Linked DNA regions of Homo sapiens: regions 1, 3, 4 and 5 are each linked to region 2. Evidence: promoter capture Hi-C in 16 types of primary human blood cells and fetal thymus (Javierre and others, 2016). All regions are on one chromosome and are shown on one strand. The core of a region is centred on a gene start or on the middle of the fragment in contact, and the rest is flanking DNA. Distances in the headings are between cores, read along the strand shown. Region 1 overlaps ATP11B (ATPase phospholipid transporting 11B (putative)). Region 2 holds the start of KLHL24 (kelch like family member 24). Region 3 overlaps MCCC1 (methylcrotonyl-CoA carboxylase subunit 1). Region 4 holds the start of EIF4G1 (eukaryotic translation initiation factor 4 gamma 1). Region 5 holds the start of LOC105374247 (a long non-coding RNA gene).

Evidence for each region. Contacts are between HindIII fragments. The CHiCAGO score rates a contact against its expected background, and 5 or more counts as called.
Region 1: a contact is called between a fragment that was not itself captured here and the fragment with the promoter of KLHL24 in region 2, in 2 of 17 cell types (fetal thymus and total B cells). The highest score is 9.3, in fetal thymus.
Region 3: a fragment that was not itself captured here is called in contact with the fragment with the promoter of KLHL24 in region 2 in 1 of 17 cell types (naive CD8 T cells); the score reaches 5.1 in naive CD8 T cells.
Region 4: a contact is called between the fragment with the promoter of EIF4G1 here and the fragment with the promoter of KLHL24 in region 2, in 1 of 17 cell types (total CD8 T cells). The highest score is 5.0, in total CD8 T cells.
Region 5: a contact is called between a fragment that was not itself captured here and the fragment with the promoter of KLHL24 in region 2, in 3 of 17 cell types (fetal thymus, M2 macrophages and monocytes). The highest score is 5.8, in fetal thymus.

The regions. Positions count from the first base shown.
Region 1 is chr3:182,795,270-182,797,969 of GRCh38, forward strand. All of the region lies in intron 1 of ATP11B (ATPase phospholipid transporting 11B (putative)), which reads left to right. Among named protein-coding and RNA genes, the nearest start is that of ATP11B, 3.1 kb to the left of the region's middle. The HindIII fragment of the contact is 989 bases long and covers 881-1,869 here.
Region 2 is chr3:183,634,174-183,636,873 of GRCh38, forward strand. It overlaps KLHL24 (kelch like family member 24), which reads left to right and starts at 1,450. Exons shown (of 8, transcript NM_017644.3): 1 at 1,450-1,620. LOC107986162 (a long non-coding RNA gene) reads right to left here and starts at 2,436. Exons shown (of 2, transcript XR_001741042.2): 1 at 2,362-2,436; 2 at 1-2,111. RefSeq lists an enhancer at 1,296-1,355 and silencers at 1,776-1,885, 1,896-1,965, 2,156-2,475, 2,526-2,700. The HindIII fragment of the contact is 5,143 bases long and covers 1,097-2,700 here.
Region 3 is chr3:183,085,333-183,088,032 of GRCh38, forward strand. MCCC1 (methylcrotonyl-CoA carboxylase subunit 1) reads right to left here. Exons shown (of 19, transcript NM_020166.5): 4 at 1,361-1,456. Among named protein-coding and RNA genes, the nearest start is that of MCCC1, 13 kb to the right of the region's middle. The HindIII fragment of the contact is 948 bases long and covers 900-1,847 here.
Region 4 is chr3:184,313,157-184,315,861 of GRCh38, forward strand. EIF4G1 (eukaryotic translation initiation factor 4 gamma 1) reads left to right here and starts at 1,450. Exons shown (of 33, transcript NM_198241.3): 1 at 1,450-1,518; 2 at 2,333-2,389; 3 at 2,607-2,700. The coding sequence starts at 2,641. RefSeq lists enhancers at 873-1,373, 2,098-2,705 and silencers at 1,201-1,530, 1,551-2,260. The HindIII fragment of the contact is 4,143 bases long and covers 1-2,561 here.
Region 5 is chr3:183,105,886-183,108,585 of GRCh38, forward strand. It overlaps LOC105374247 (a long non-coding RNA gene), which reads left to right and starts at 2,340. Exons shown (of 3, transcript XR_924772.3): 1 at 2,340-2,509. It also overlaps a transcript of MCCC1 not described here. The HindIII fragment of the contact is 1,801 bases long and covers 399-2,199 here.

The sequences.
Region 1 (2,700 bases), core at 125-2,624, 840 kb before region 2:
TTTGCCAAATCTTCTTGTATAGAGGGCTGATTTACCTGATGGTGTTTTTGTGTGGTAGGAAGATCATTTTAAAGTGGTTCTCTTGAAGCTTTTTTAAAAATGTATTGAGACATCCTTTCTCACTGTTAGGTATTTTTTAGCCAGAATAAAATCCTGGTTGTATAACCATGCTCATCTTCAAGACAGAAAACCTGGTAATGTTTTTTAAAATGGCTTCAAATGAACCCAGCTAAAAGGAAGGGCCGGAAGTTGTGTGTGGTTATTTTACAAGGCAGCCGTCTTAACAGGGATGGTTAACGAGTTGAACAAGTTCCTGTGCATAAAAAATGCTATCTCTGACATTTAGTTGCTCACCTCACTGGTTTTAAGTTATCAGATCCTCTAAGTATGTAATCATACTTGGGCCAATGTAGGACTTTGTGTCTCTGGTTAAGTTTGTATGATCACATAAATTAAACATCAAGGACCCTGGATACAGAGTAATGAAAGTATATTTTGCTATCCCAGTCATAGACAGCTATTCTGATTACTGCACCAGAAATTATTCAACTCAGGTAAAAGCTAGTTTAGATTATACTTCCAGTGGCTTAATGGATTGAATCACCACGACTTTCAGCAATGGGTTTATTTTAAAATGCAGATAACTAGGACAAATTTGGGGAAATTGACAAGCAAATCCTAAGGACAGGTTGGAGTTATAAGCATATTTAATTCGTTATATGAATCCCGATTTTCAACTAATGTCTCACAAAAAAGTCCTTTTATTACAGAAACAATGCCTATGTTCTAGTAATTTCTTTTTAATTAAAAAAAAGTGTGACTCCTTATGACAAAATATTTTCACTACTTGAGAAGATGGAAAAATCAGAAAGTTGACAGAAGCTTGATCTTTTCTATTGGGAAAGTAGGCTGAAAATAAAAAGATTGGAATATCCTTTTTTGTTTTTCTTTTTGGCACACAATGTTAAAGTTACTTGACACTAAGAAAATTCTCTTATGGTGTCTTTGTGGTACAGTTAGTATTATTCAAAGTATACTCATTTTCAGTACCATATTTTATGTATTAACTCATTAGAGATGACAATACCTTGATTATAATTATGGAAATGCCATTAGCTACTCACTGTATTCTAATATTTAGACCTGTACGGTAGCCATTAGCCACAAGTGGCCATTAAAATTAAAATTGGAGCCATATGTGGGTATTAAAATTAAAATTTGAATTCATGTGTCTATTGGCTGCCATTGGCTGCCATATTGGACAGTTCATATTTTCATTATCACAGAAAATTCTATTGGACAGCACCAATTTAGACTTTTAAATGAAAGTCTGTGTCAGTACATATTTGAATGTAATACTACATTTTTAAAGCACTTGCTGTGTGCTGGTATTAACAGATGCTGAATACCAGGGATACAAATGTTGGTCAGGGTCACACATACTCTACATAAGTAGACATTGGATACATGTTGCTGAACAAATAATTAATAGATGAGGAAAGAAAGAATGAATCTGTAGTGTTGTTTCTGTGTTTAGAGACAAAAATGACCAAATTTAAGATTGACTAGCCCAGAAAAAAGTTAGAAAATGAGTAATTACACAAAAACAGTATTACTAGGATAACTGTTTCTTAAACTGTTCCATAAATGTAATCCCTTTAGATTGTATTGGCGATGGTGGTAGGAGGCTGCTAAGATTGTCTTCTGATTAACTGAGAAAAATGAGAAGGTCTTAATCTGAACTCCCTCAACTTTCTGTTCTTCCTCACACTCACCGAACTTGCTTATATTTTATACTGGTACTTAATTCTTCCCTTCACAGTCACAAGGAAGATGCAACCCTCTTTTCCAAGATAACAATTCCACTTAAGCTTTTGATCCTTTTCTTTCATTCTGCTGTCCATACTCCATCAGTTATCATTAGTATGTTTCTTTTCTTTCTCTTTACTTTTTCTCTTAACTTGTGAACATGTTCAAGCCTCTCTGCTACTTTTTCCTGTACCTGTAACTGGCAAATTCTTTTTAATTTTCTGAAAAACAGATCTATAAAACTGTGCTGGCTGATGTATTTGGAATGTGGCTAGTTTGAGTAGAGTTATTCTTACGTATAAAATACACATTGGATTTCAAAAACAGTATTAAAAAATGTAAAACCTGGCCGGGCAAGGTGGCTCATTCCTGTAATCCCAGTACTTTGGGAGGCCGAGACAGGCAGATCACCTGAGGTCAGGAGTTCGAGACCAGCCTGGCCAACATGGTGAAACCTCATCTCTACTAAAAATCCGAAAATTTGCCTGGCGTGGTGATGGGCACCTGTAATCCCAGCTACTCAGGAGGCTGAAGCAGCAGAATCACTTGAACGTGGGAGGCAAAGGTTGCAGTAAGCCAAGATCATGCCACTGGACTCTAGCCTGGGTGACAGAGGGAGACTCTGTCTCAAAAAAGAAAAAAGAAAAAAGAAAAAAGAACTCTCATTTTTTTGTTAGTTACATGTTGAGATATTATAATATTTTACATATATAGGTAAAGTAAAATAAATTTTTGGAATTTTGTTTCTTTTTACTTTTTTTAAAGTGGTTAGAAATTTTAAAGTTACCTACGTGACTTGCATCTGTTGCTCATGTTCTATTTCTATTAGTGCTGCTGTATAACATTAAAAGTGAATTCCTGTATCCTGGTAAGAATAGTGAGATCCTGTCT
Region 2 (2,700 bases), core at 200-2,699:
ATATGGAGTTGTATTGAAAGCATTTTATCGTTTTAGAAAAACTAAGAGGACATTGTGATAGATCCATAATAAAATAAGCAAAGAAAGAGGATAATTATTAAAACTCCAAGGAAAACCAAAAGCCATACAAGATGGGAAATTGTATACGATTTGTCTCAACAATGAATAATAAATACATGGTCTCATTAGCGTAAACATTAATGATTTAACCAGATTATGAGAAGGATAGCTTCCTTAATAGGAAATAGTCATACATTATTTGGAAATATATAAATACCAGAAGAAATAGCTCAAATAATTGAATAAGAGATGGAAAAGAGGCCTAAAAAGTATGTTTAAAAGGCCTGTATATAGGCCTTCCATATTATTTCCGCCTCTGGTCATCAGAACACAACGCCTAATTTAATAGAGGCATGACGGTATTCATGACATGTAGAAGATAGAGATTTTTAAATTTGGTATCAGAAACCAAAAACTAGTTAAATGGTTGCAATCATCCTTTAAAAGAATACCTGCAGGCGGGGCGCAGTGGCTCATGCCTGTAATCCTAGCACTGTGGGAGGCCAAGGCAGGCGGATCACTTGAGGCCAGAAGTTCGAGACCAGCCTGGCTAACACAGCCTCTACTAAAAATACAAAACATTACCTGGGCGTGGTGGCGGGCACCTGTAGTCTCAGCTACTCGGGAGGCTAAGGCGGGAGAATCGCCTGAACCCGGGAGGCAGAGGTTGCAGTGGGCCGAGATTGCGCCACTGCACTCCACCCTGAGTGGCAGAGCGAAACTCTGTCTCAAAACGAAACAAAACAAAAAGCTTGCAGACACAAAACGACAACACAATGTCCTTTAGGAACTCCATCTACCTTGGAAAACAGGGATTTGTGACAGCTTTGGTCGACGTGCATGTGCGTTTAAAATAAAAAGGTAACCTAGGATTTGATACCAGGGACAGTAACAGCTTTATCAAAAAAAAAGAGGTGGTTTTCCTTGCTCCTTCTAAGGACTGGGGTTTTAGTCTCGTCCACCCTGCAGGCCCTCAGGCCTGATTTCCGATTGTCTATCAAAGGGTCAAATAAAAAGCTCTCTAAGCTTCGACCCAAGCTTTAAAGTCGAAGGGCTGATCGCGGGCTTTTTCCTTGGGACGTGGCAGGGGCCTTTGAGGGAAGGAAAGAAACGACTCTGGCTTCTCACTCGGCTCCTTACACAAGAGGCATTTTTTTAACTGTCTCTGCTTAAAACAAGGTGTTTTTGAGTCAGCAGCCCTTTGGGTGGGTCTCGTCCTCTTGGGCACCCGACACCCACCCCACGGCGGGAGCCCCAGGTGGCCCCGGAGGCCACCGGGAAGCGTGAACTACATCTCCCAGGGTTCCCCGGGGCGGAGGACGCCCACCCGGATTGGCCAGGGTTCGCTGACGCTCAGTGTTTTGGCCCGGACGGTCACATGTTTCCTTTGTTGTGAGCTGCGGCAGAGACTGGTGGCTGGAGGAGACGCCGGCGCTGGAGAGTGCGCTGCGCCGCCCGCCGCTGAGGGACCGCGGGGTTAGCCACTGCTGGCTGCTTCCAGTGTTCGCCGAGAGGTACCGGGGGTGACAGCTCCGGGACCGGCCGAAAGGCGAGGAACCGGTCAGAGTCTGAGTCCTCGGGGGCGGAGGGGCGACGGCGGTCCTGACCACCGGGGTGTCTGCGGGAGGGCAGCCAGCGGCGGCCGGCCTCTCAGAGCCAGACTGGCGGTCTGCGGAGAGGCTGCAGCTGGGCTACAGGGCCCCTTTCTGAGGCGAGGGGCCTCCAGGGTTCACCTGGGGGGTCTTCCTCCCCCGCTTGGTAGCTACAGCCCTGAGGGAGGGCGCGCGCGCCTCCTGGCACTACGGCCCGGAACCGCGGCGCGGCTGGTGCGGCCTGGCTAGGGCGGGGTGGTTGCCGGGACTGGGGGTAGCCGCAGGTGCGGTAGGCTAGTCGCCGCGGGGCCGGGCGCCGCCGGGGGAGGCGGCTGGGCAGACGGGTGCTGCTTGTTGCCGATGGGCTGCGAACGGGGCGCTGCTTTTTATTTCAGGAAGCCCGGGGGAGTGCGACCGCCTCAAATCCAGCCTTCTTGTTTGGTGGGACGACCGTCGGTTCTGTCCGGGAGGAATGACGGGGTCAAGGTGGGGTCCCCAGGGCCGCGGGCCCGTGAAGCCCCATTAAAGCGATTGCGAAATGCACTCGGCACTGTCACCTGACCGTTACCCCCGCCCCCGTCCCCTGCGAGCCTTTGTTTACCACGATCGCGACACCCGGCCCGCTGCGGCCGTCCCCGGGGAGCCGGGGCGGGCGGGGGAGCGGGCGTTCCGCCGGCGCAGTCCCCGCCTAACCTCCCCACCTTCTTACCACTCCAGGACTCAGTTTCTTAATTTAGTTCCTAATGGACCCGCCCTCAAGTTCTGGACACCCCGGGTGAAGACTGTTAACGCGGCGGGGATTGGGCGCCTGCGGCAGCTTGTGGGCGGTACCCGAGGGAGAGTTCGAGTTTTTATTGGCGAGTTTTTATTGTCACTAGGTGGGCCTGCCCTGGGCCATTCTTCCCGCCCCCTTGAAGGTGATCTGGAGGACGCGCGGGAGCGCGCGCTGTCGCTGCTTTTGCAGCTGCGGCCCGAGTGGAGCCGGGTGGCGCGGGTGCGGGAGGCGCGCGCTCCCGCCCCTGCTGCGGGCGGCTGGTAGCCTCGGTGG
Region 3 (2,700 bases), core at 124-2,623, 550 kb before region 2:
TGGCTACTCAGAATGAAATACAAACTCCTTATCAAGACCTATAATGTTCTCACTTTGGGAACTGAGGCAGGCAGATCGCTTGAGCCTAGGAGTTCAACACCAGCCTGGGCAACATGGAGAAAGCCCATCCCTACAAAAAATAAAAAATTAGCCAGGTGTGATGGCATGCGCCTGTGGTCCCAGCTACCTGGGAGGCTGAAGTGGGAGGATCACTTGAGCCTGGGTGTTGGAAGCTGCAGCGAGCCATGATTGTGCCACTGCACTGCAGCCTGGGCAACAGAGCAAAGACCCTGTCTTTAAAAAAAAAAAAAAAAAAAAAAAAGAATGTTCTAAATGATGCTACCCCTACCTCTCTCTGCTCCATCGTCTCCTACCACTTTCTTCCTGTAAGATGGTTCTCCCAGCTGCAAATCCAGCCTTCTACGTGGTGCCTTGTGAAGGGGCTCTGCCTGTTTGCCAGTGGGCTTCCTGTTAGGTTTCACCAGTAGGGGTCACTGTAGGGAAACTTGAACAAGGAAGCTTTCCTTCTCCTCACCGCCGGGAAGCGGCCATTGGTTCCAGTCTTCAGGTTCTTTTGGAACTCCAAGAACCAGCCTCATTAAGCCCTCGGCAGCCAGGCAGGGCCCCTCCACAGATCTGAGAACAGCTGCAGAAAGTCCCTCCCCCAGTCTCTCCTTCAGCCCAAAGGGTGGTTTTCAATTTCTGTTATTATTAAAGGGTAATTTCAACATCCCCACCCTGCCTTCAGCTCTCTAACACTGGTGGAACTAATTCCTAAACTAAGTTCCTTCTGCTGAAACGTCAAATGGAATTTTGGTTTTACTGACTATACCTGAATGACACAGCCCCTTACTGCCTTCACTCCAACCACACTGAACATTCTTCTCCCTTGAACACCAAGCTTGTTTTCATCTCAGAGTCTTGGCAATTCCATTTGCCTGAATCGTCTTCCTTAAGTTCCCTACGTGGCCCTAGAATGAGACTGGGAAGTTGGGGTGGAAATATATTTCTTTCTTGCTTATATTTTACCTTGTAATTCAGAGCCCTACCTACCTATTTCTCCCAAAGGATTTGAGCTTGTAGTTTTGAGGATAGAAGAGCTGAATTCTCTCCTAATTTTAACTTGTAATTTAGACCCTCTTTCCACCTATTTCCCAAAGGATCTAAAGTACACAGGATCCAGTAAAAAGGCAGACTGGCTGAGAAATGAGATGGGACATGCCTAGTTTACAATGATAATCCAATAATCAAATGTAAAGATCTTGGGAAAGGCTAAAAATAGAAAATTTCTATAAGTAACTTTGCATCAGTTGCACAAAACGTATTCCTTTTGCACTGCAAATCTCTTCACAACCCTCACCTGTGCAGCAGAGGTCTTGGCCACTTGAATGATTTTCTCCATAGATAGGTAGCTCTGCTGGGAGGGAGCGGGGCCGATGGAATATGCTTCATCTGCCTGTTTAAGAAACATCACATGCTTAAAAGACTTTGTGGCTAGTACATACTCATACACTATACAGAACTGCTTCAGGGTCATTTTATTATTGTAAATAAAAATGCCACTCCCTCAAGAACAGTGCAAGAATTGAAAAACTGAAGTACCAATGTATGTCTACACTATAAAAATAAGCCAGTCTTAGAATCTTTTGCATGAAGAGGGTAACAAAACTTGGTTTTCATGCATAAGCCACACACTGGTGTGAAACTAAAGTGTCTCAGGATAAAAAGCAACAGACATTAGTCATGATATTATTACTAAAACAATAATAACCTTAAATGTATTCAAGGCCAAAAATTTATATTTGATAATAGAAACAAAATATGTGACAGATGTACACAAAGAAAAAAGCTTACAAAGTTGATTAAAGTTTATATAATTATCAGAGTATGATAATGCTTTCATACATTTGTGAATTATTTTATATTATTCCTTAAAACTTACACAAAATCATAGCATCCCTTGAAGTAGACCATTTAGAGCACATCATTCATTCATTCCAAGACTTACTGAAGGCCTACTACGTGCCACACTTTGAGGTGGGAGCTGCCTGTACCATAGTGAACAAGACAAATGTCCCTGTCTAGGGGGAGAGACAGACATTAAAAATACATTCACACACTTAATGACAACTGTGATGAACGTCATGGAGGAAAAACCAAGGGCATAAATGCTGTAGGAGGAAGGCCTGATCTGGTCTGAAGGTGATCAGGAAATGCCTAGAAGGGAAGTCAGGGGAGGCTCCTCAAGGATGATCAAGACTGGCCGGGCATGGTGGCTCACGCCTGTAATCCCAGCAAGGCCAAGGCGGGCGGATCATGAGGTCAGGAGATTGAGACCGTCCTGGCTAACACAGTGAAACCCCATTTCTACTAAAAATACAAAAAAAAATTAGCTGGGCGTGGTGGTCGGCACCCGTAGTCCCAGCTACTCGGGAGGCTGAGGCAGGAGAATGGCGTGAACAGGGAGGCGGAGCTTGTAGTGAGCCGAGATTGCGCCACTGAACTCCAGCCTGGGCAACAGGGCGAGACTCCTTCTCAAAAAAAAAAAAAAAAAAAAGGATGATCAAGACTTTGCCTGGCAAACAGATCAAGAATGTGGAGCTGAGAACAGGAATGGAGCTGAGGATGAGGCTCTCAGGCACAGAAAACAACCTACATAAAGGTGGGAGGAAAACTGGTCCAGCTGAGTGACCGAAGAAG
Region 4 (2,705 bases), core at 200-2,699, 680 kb after region 2:
CATGTTGGCCAGGATGGTGACCCCGTGATCCGCCCTGACCCCGTGATCCGCCCGCCTCGGCCTTCCAAAGTGCTGGGATTACAGGCGTGAACCACCGCGCCCGGCCCATGATCCTTTTAAACGACAAATCTCATACTACTTGCCTAGTTAGAATGTTTCTAACTTTTTAAACGACAAATCTCATACTACTTGCCTAGTTAGAATGTTTCTATCCTTTTAATTTCCTTTGTTATAGGCCTTTCAAGGACCTAATCTAAATTCTTTTCAAAGCCTGCATAATTCGTGTTGTATCACGATTTACTTAGGCAGGACTGAGTCTTTAATTTCTTTTTTTCTTTCTTTTTTTTTTTTTTTGAGATGGAGTCTCACCCTGTCGCCAGGCTAGAGTGCAGTGGCGTAATTTCGGCTCACTGCAACCTCCGCCTCCCGGGTTCAAGCAATTCTCTGCCTCTGCCTACCGAGTAGCTAGGACTACAGGCGTGCGCCACCAGGCCCAGCTAATTTTTTGTATTTTAGTAGAGACGGGGTTTCACCATGTTGGCCAGGATGGTCTAGATCTCCTGACCCCGTGATCCGCCCGCCTCGGCCTCCCAAAGTGCTGGGATTACAGGCGTGAGCCACTGCGCCCGGCCCATGATCTTTTTAAACTACAAATCTCATACTACTTGCCTAATTAGAATGTTTCTATCCTTTTAATTTCCTTTGTTATTGGCCTTTCAATGACCTAATCTAAATTATTTTCAAAGCCTGCATAATTCGTATTGTATCACGATTTACTTAGGCAGGACGGAGTCTTTAATTTCTTTCTTTTTTTTTTTTGAGATGGAGTCTCGCCCTGTCGCCAGGCTAGGCTAGAGTGCAGTGGCACAATCTCCGCTCACTGCAACCTCTGCCTCCCGGGCTCAAACAATTCTCCTGCCTCAGCCTCCCAAGTAGCTGGGACTACGGGTGCGCCACCACGCCCGGCTAATTTTTGTATTTTTAGTAAAGACGGGGTTTCACCATGTTGGCCAGGATGGTCTCGATCTCTTGACCTCGTGATCCGCCCACCTCGGCCTCCCAAAGTACTGGGATTAAGGTGTGAGCCACCGCGCCCCGCTTATTTTTTTTTTTTTTTTGCCGAGACTTTGATTTCAGTTTCTCAGCCCTCAACCAGCACTTCGCCTTGTACTTAGCATGCACTCAATAAATGGTTGCTTAAAATATGAATGAACTAAAGAATCGCGGAACAGAGAGAAACACAGAGGGGAATCGGTCTGGGAGTTTCAAAGTTCGGGAGGGGACACGGGGGCGGGCTGTGGCTGTCACGTGACGGGGCGGGGGCAAATCCCATGTGCTCGGCGGCGCAGATCGCCCGGCGCGGCTCCGCCCCCTGCGCCGGTCACGTGGGGGCGCCGGCTGCGCCTGCGGAGAAGCGGTGGCCGCCGAGCGGGATCTGTGCGGGGAGCCGGAAATGGTTGTGGACTACGTCTGTGCGGCTGCGTGGGGCTCGGCCGCGCGGACTGAAGGAGACTGAAGGTAAAGCCGCCATGTCCGGGCCCGACCCGGCCCCCCCACCCCCTCCCCCCGCATCCGCCGCCATCCGGGCCGGGACCGGCCACCCTGCGCCGCCGCCCCGGCGCCCTGGCCCCGCGGCCCGACCCAGGGCCCCGGCCCGCCAGGGTCCCGATCCCCGGCCCACGTGTGCCTGGCCCGGCCGGGCCTGGCTGCTGGGTGGGGGTGGGGAGCGCAGGGCCGGACTATGCGGGCCCCGCGGGCTGGTAGGGCGCCGGGTTCGTCGCCGCGAAATGCCACCTCGGCCTGACCCGAGGAGGCCCGGCAGCCCACGGGCGCAGGCACCACGGCTCCCGGCCCGCCGCCCCCTCCCCCCTTCGCGGCCAGGCCGCCGGGAAGTGACACGTTGTTCTTTGGCACTGGCCCGCGCTGCGCAGGGAGGGCGCAGGGGAGGGAGGCGGTGGCGGCGGGCAGGGAGGAGCCCCCGGCCCCGCCCGCCCTCCGGGCCGACCCTCACTTGCCTGAAACCGGCTCCTCGACGGCCGCCGCCCGCCTGGCCTTTTAGGGCCTGACTCCCGCCCTTCCTGGCCTACACTCCTGGGCGGCGGCAGGCCTAGCTTCTGGCCCAGTGCGGGTTCCCCGGCGGCAGGCGTATCCTGTGTGCCCCTGGGCCAGGCCCGAACCCGGTGTCCCCGGGTGGGGGGTGGGGACGCCACGGCCGAAGCAGCTAGCTCCGTTCGTGATCCGGGAGCCTGGTGCCAGCGAGACCTGGAATTTCCGGTCTGGTTGGTCTGGGGCCCCGCGGAGCCAGGTTGATACCCTCACCTCCCAACCCCAGGCCCTCGGATGCCCAGAACCTGTAGGCCGCACCGTGGACTTGTTCTTAATCGAGGGGGTGAGTGAGGGGTCTGTTTCAGTAGGTCAGGGGTTGGTTGGAAGTGATGCGGGTTTGACAGCATGTTGGTGGGGACAGGCTGTATCTTTTCTGCTTCACCCTCTTGGCATCTCTGGGACTCCGTATGGGACCCAGCCCTTGCATCAACCCTTTCACCGCCCCATTTGCCTTAAGCTTGGGTCCCTTCCTCTTCCTGAGCGCCACTCTTTCCCAACAGGTGCTGGGGGGACCCTGATGTGGCACCAAATGAAATGAACAAAGCTCCACAGTCCACAGGCCCCCCACCCGCCCCATCCCCCGGACTCCCACAGGTAAT
Region 5 (2,700 bases), core at 49-2,548, 530 kb before region 2:
AAGACCAGCCTGGCCAACATGGTGAAACCCTGTCTCTACTAAAAAATACAAATATTAGCCGGACATGGTGGCTGGTGCCTATAATCCCAGCTACTCAGGAGGTTGAAGCAGGAGAATCACTTGAACCTGGGAGGGGGAGGTTGCAGTGAGCCCAGATCGCGCCATTACACTCCAGCCTGAGCAACAGAGAGTCCGTAAAAAAAAAAAAAAAGACTACCAAAACTACAACCTTGCACAAAGGCCATCACAACCTTACACAAAAAATACTTCTGCAAGAACATGTGTCCAGCAACTGCCTATGGAACCCTGGACTGGCATCACCCATGTTATTCATCTTTGTAGCCAAGGATAATTATTTCAAAACAATTACATAATACTCCTCATGTTTTCCTTTAAAAAGCTTACTCCCATTGCAATGGCTTATTCCAAAATAAATATCTTTTTCTTTTATAGAGCCTCTCTCTGTTCCTTATTTAGGCTGATACTATAGAAAAACACATAATTTTAAAATGTTTTGTTTTGCTATAACTTCAAACTTACAGAAAAGCTGCAAGAATAGTACCCTTCACCTAGATTTCCCAAATGTTTCTTTGTTCTTTTCTTTCTTTCTTTCTTTCTTTCTTTCTTTTTTGAAACAGAGTCTCGCTCTGTCGCCCAGGCTGGAGTGCAGGGGTGCAATCTCAGCTCACTGCAACCTCAGCCTCCCAGGTTCAAGCGATTCTACTGCCTCAGCCTCCTGAGTAGCTGGGATTGCAGGCGCTCCACCATACCAGGCTAATTTTTGTATTTTTAGTAGAGACGGAGTTTCACCGTGTCGGCCAGGCTGATCTCAAACTCCTGACCTCAGGTGATCCACCCACCTTAGCCTCCCAAAGTGCTGGGATTACAGGCATGAGTCACCACGCCCAGCCCAAATGTTTCTATTTTATCGCATTTGCTTTATCTTTCTCTCTCTCCCTCTCCTCATGCAGATATAGATATATATGTGTACACACACACACTCACACATGCATACACTCACATTTTCTTTTGGAACCATTTGAAAGCAGGCTGCAGACATGATGCCTTTTTTTTTACCTCTAACTATGTCACTGCATATTTCCTAAAACAAGGAGATTTTATCACTTGCCCACAGAATATTTTTGAAGATTGTGAAGTTAACACTGATACATACTATTATTTATTCTACAGACCTACTTTGACTTTCAACAATTGTTCCAAAAGAAAACACTGTAGTGGCCAGGCGCAGTGGCTCACGCCTGTAATCCCAGCACTTTGGGAGGCTGAGGCGGACGGATCATTTGAGGTCAGGAGTTTGAGACCAGCCTGGCCAACATGGTGAAACCCCATCTCTACTAAGAATAAAAAAAAAATTAGCTGGGCATGGTGGCATGCACCTGTAGTCCCAGCTACTGGGGAGGCTGGGGCAGGAGAATCGCTTGAACCCAGGAGGTGGAGGTTGCAGTGAGCTGAGATCGTGCCTTTGCACTCCAGCCTGGGCAACAAGAGCGAAACTCCATCTCAAAAAAAAAAAAAGAAAAAGAAAAAGAAAAAGAAAACACTGTAGTACACATTGCATTGACTCTTAGGTCACTTAATTTGTATTGATTCCTCTGTTTTGTTTTTATTATTATTATTATTATTATTATTTGTTGTTGTTGTTGTTGTTGTTGTTGAAATGAAGTCTCACTCTGTCACCCAGGCTGGAGTGCAGTGGTGTAATCTTGGCTTACTGCAACCTCTGCCTCCTGTATTCAAGTGATTCTCATGCCTCAGCCTCCCAAGTAGCTGGGATTACAGGCGCATGCCACCACGCCTGGCTAGTTTTCTTTTCTTTCTTTTTTGTAGAAACGGAGGTTTCACCATGTTGGCCAGGCTGGTCTCAAACTCCTGACCTCAAGTGATCCGCCCGCCTCAGTCTCCCAAAGTGCTGGGATTACAGGTGTGAGCCACTGCACCCAGCCTGATTCCTCCGTTTTTAAAAAGATGCTGATGATGCTGATATTTTTTATGAATACAGGCCAGTTGTTTTGTACAATATCCTTGAATTTGGGTTTGCCAAAAATAAAATCAGATTAAATTTAAATTCTCAAAAAGATTATTGAGCATACAAAATAACAGTTCCCAAACTAGAGACCTCTGTGCAGCTTCCTAAATGAGGAAGTACGTTGATCTCTGTTGTGCAAATAAAGCTGCATAAGCTTGTTTGTATTGGCTTAATGTTATTACGCTGACAAGGAAGAAAAAGTGTGTTATGGTTAGGGCTAGCATTTTCAGGGAAATCAGGATAGTTTAGGTTTTGACTACACATGGCTGTGGGTTGTTGGCCTAGGGAAATATCCAAACTGTGGCCTCCAATTTTATTTTTCTTTAACCTGTTCATCTGGTATTTCCTCATGATTAGATTTAGGTTATTAGATTTAGGTAATTAGATTCCTCCCTTTTGGCAGGAATACCACAGAAGTGATGTCATACCCATTTCAGTGCATCATATCTGGAGCTACAAAATGTGAGTTTGTTCCATGATGTTAACTTTATCACTTGATTAAATTGGTGTCTGCCAGGTTTCCTCACTGTAAATATTTTTTTTTGACATTCCATATGGTTTTGTCTCCGAGAGGTAGAATTGTGTTTCATTCTCCACCACTCCTTCTCAACATTACTTCTGAATAATTTTCTGCACTTCGCAAAGTTCTACAA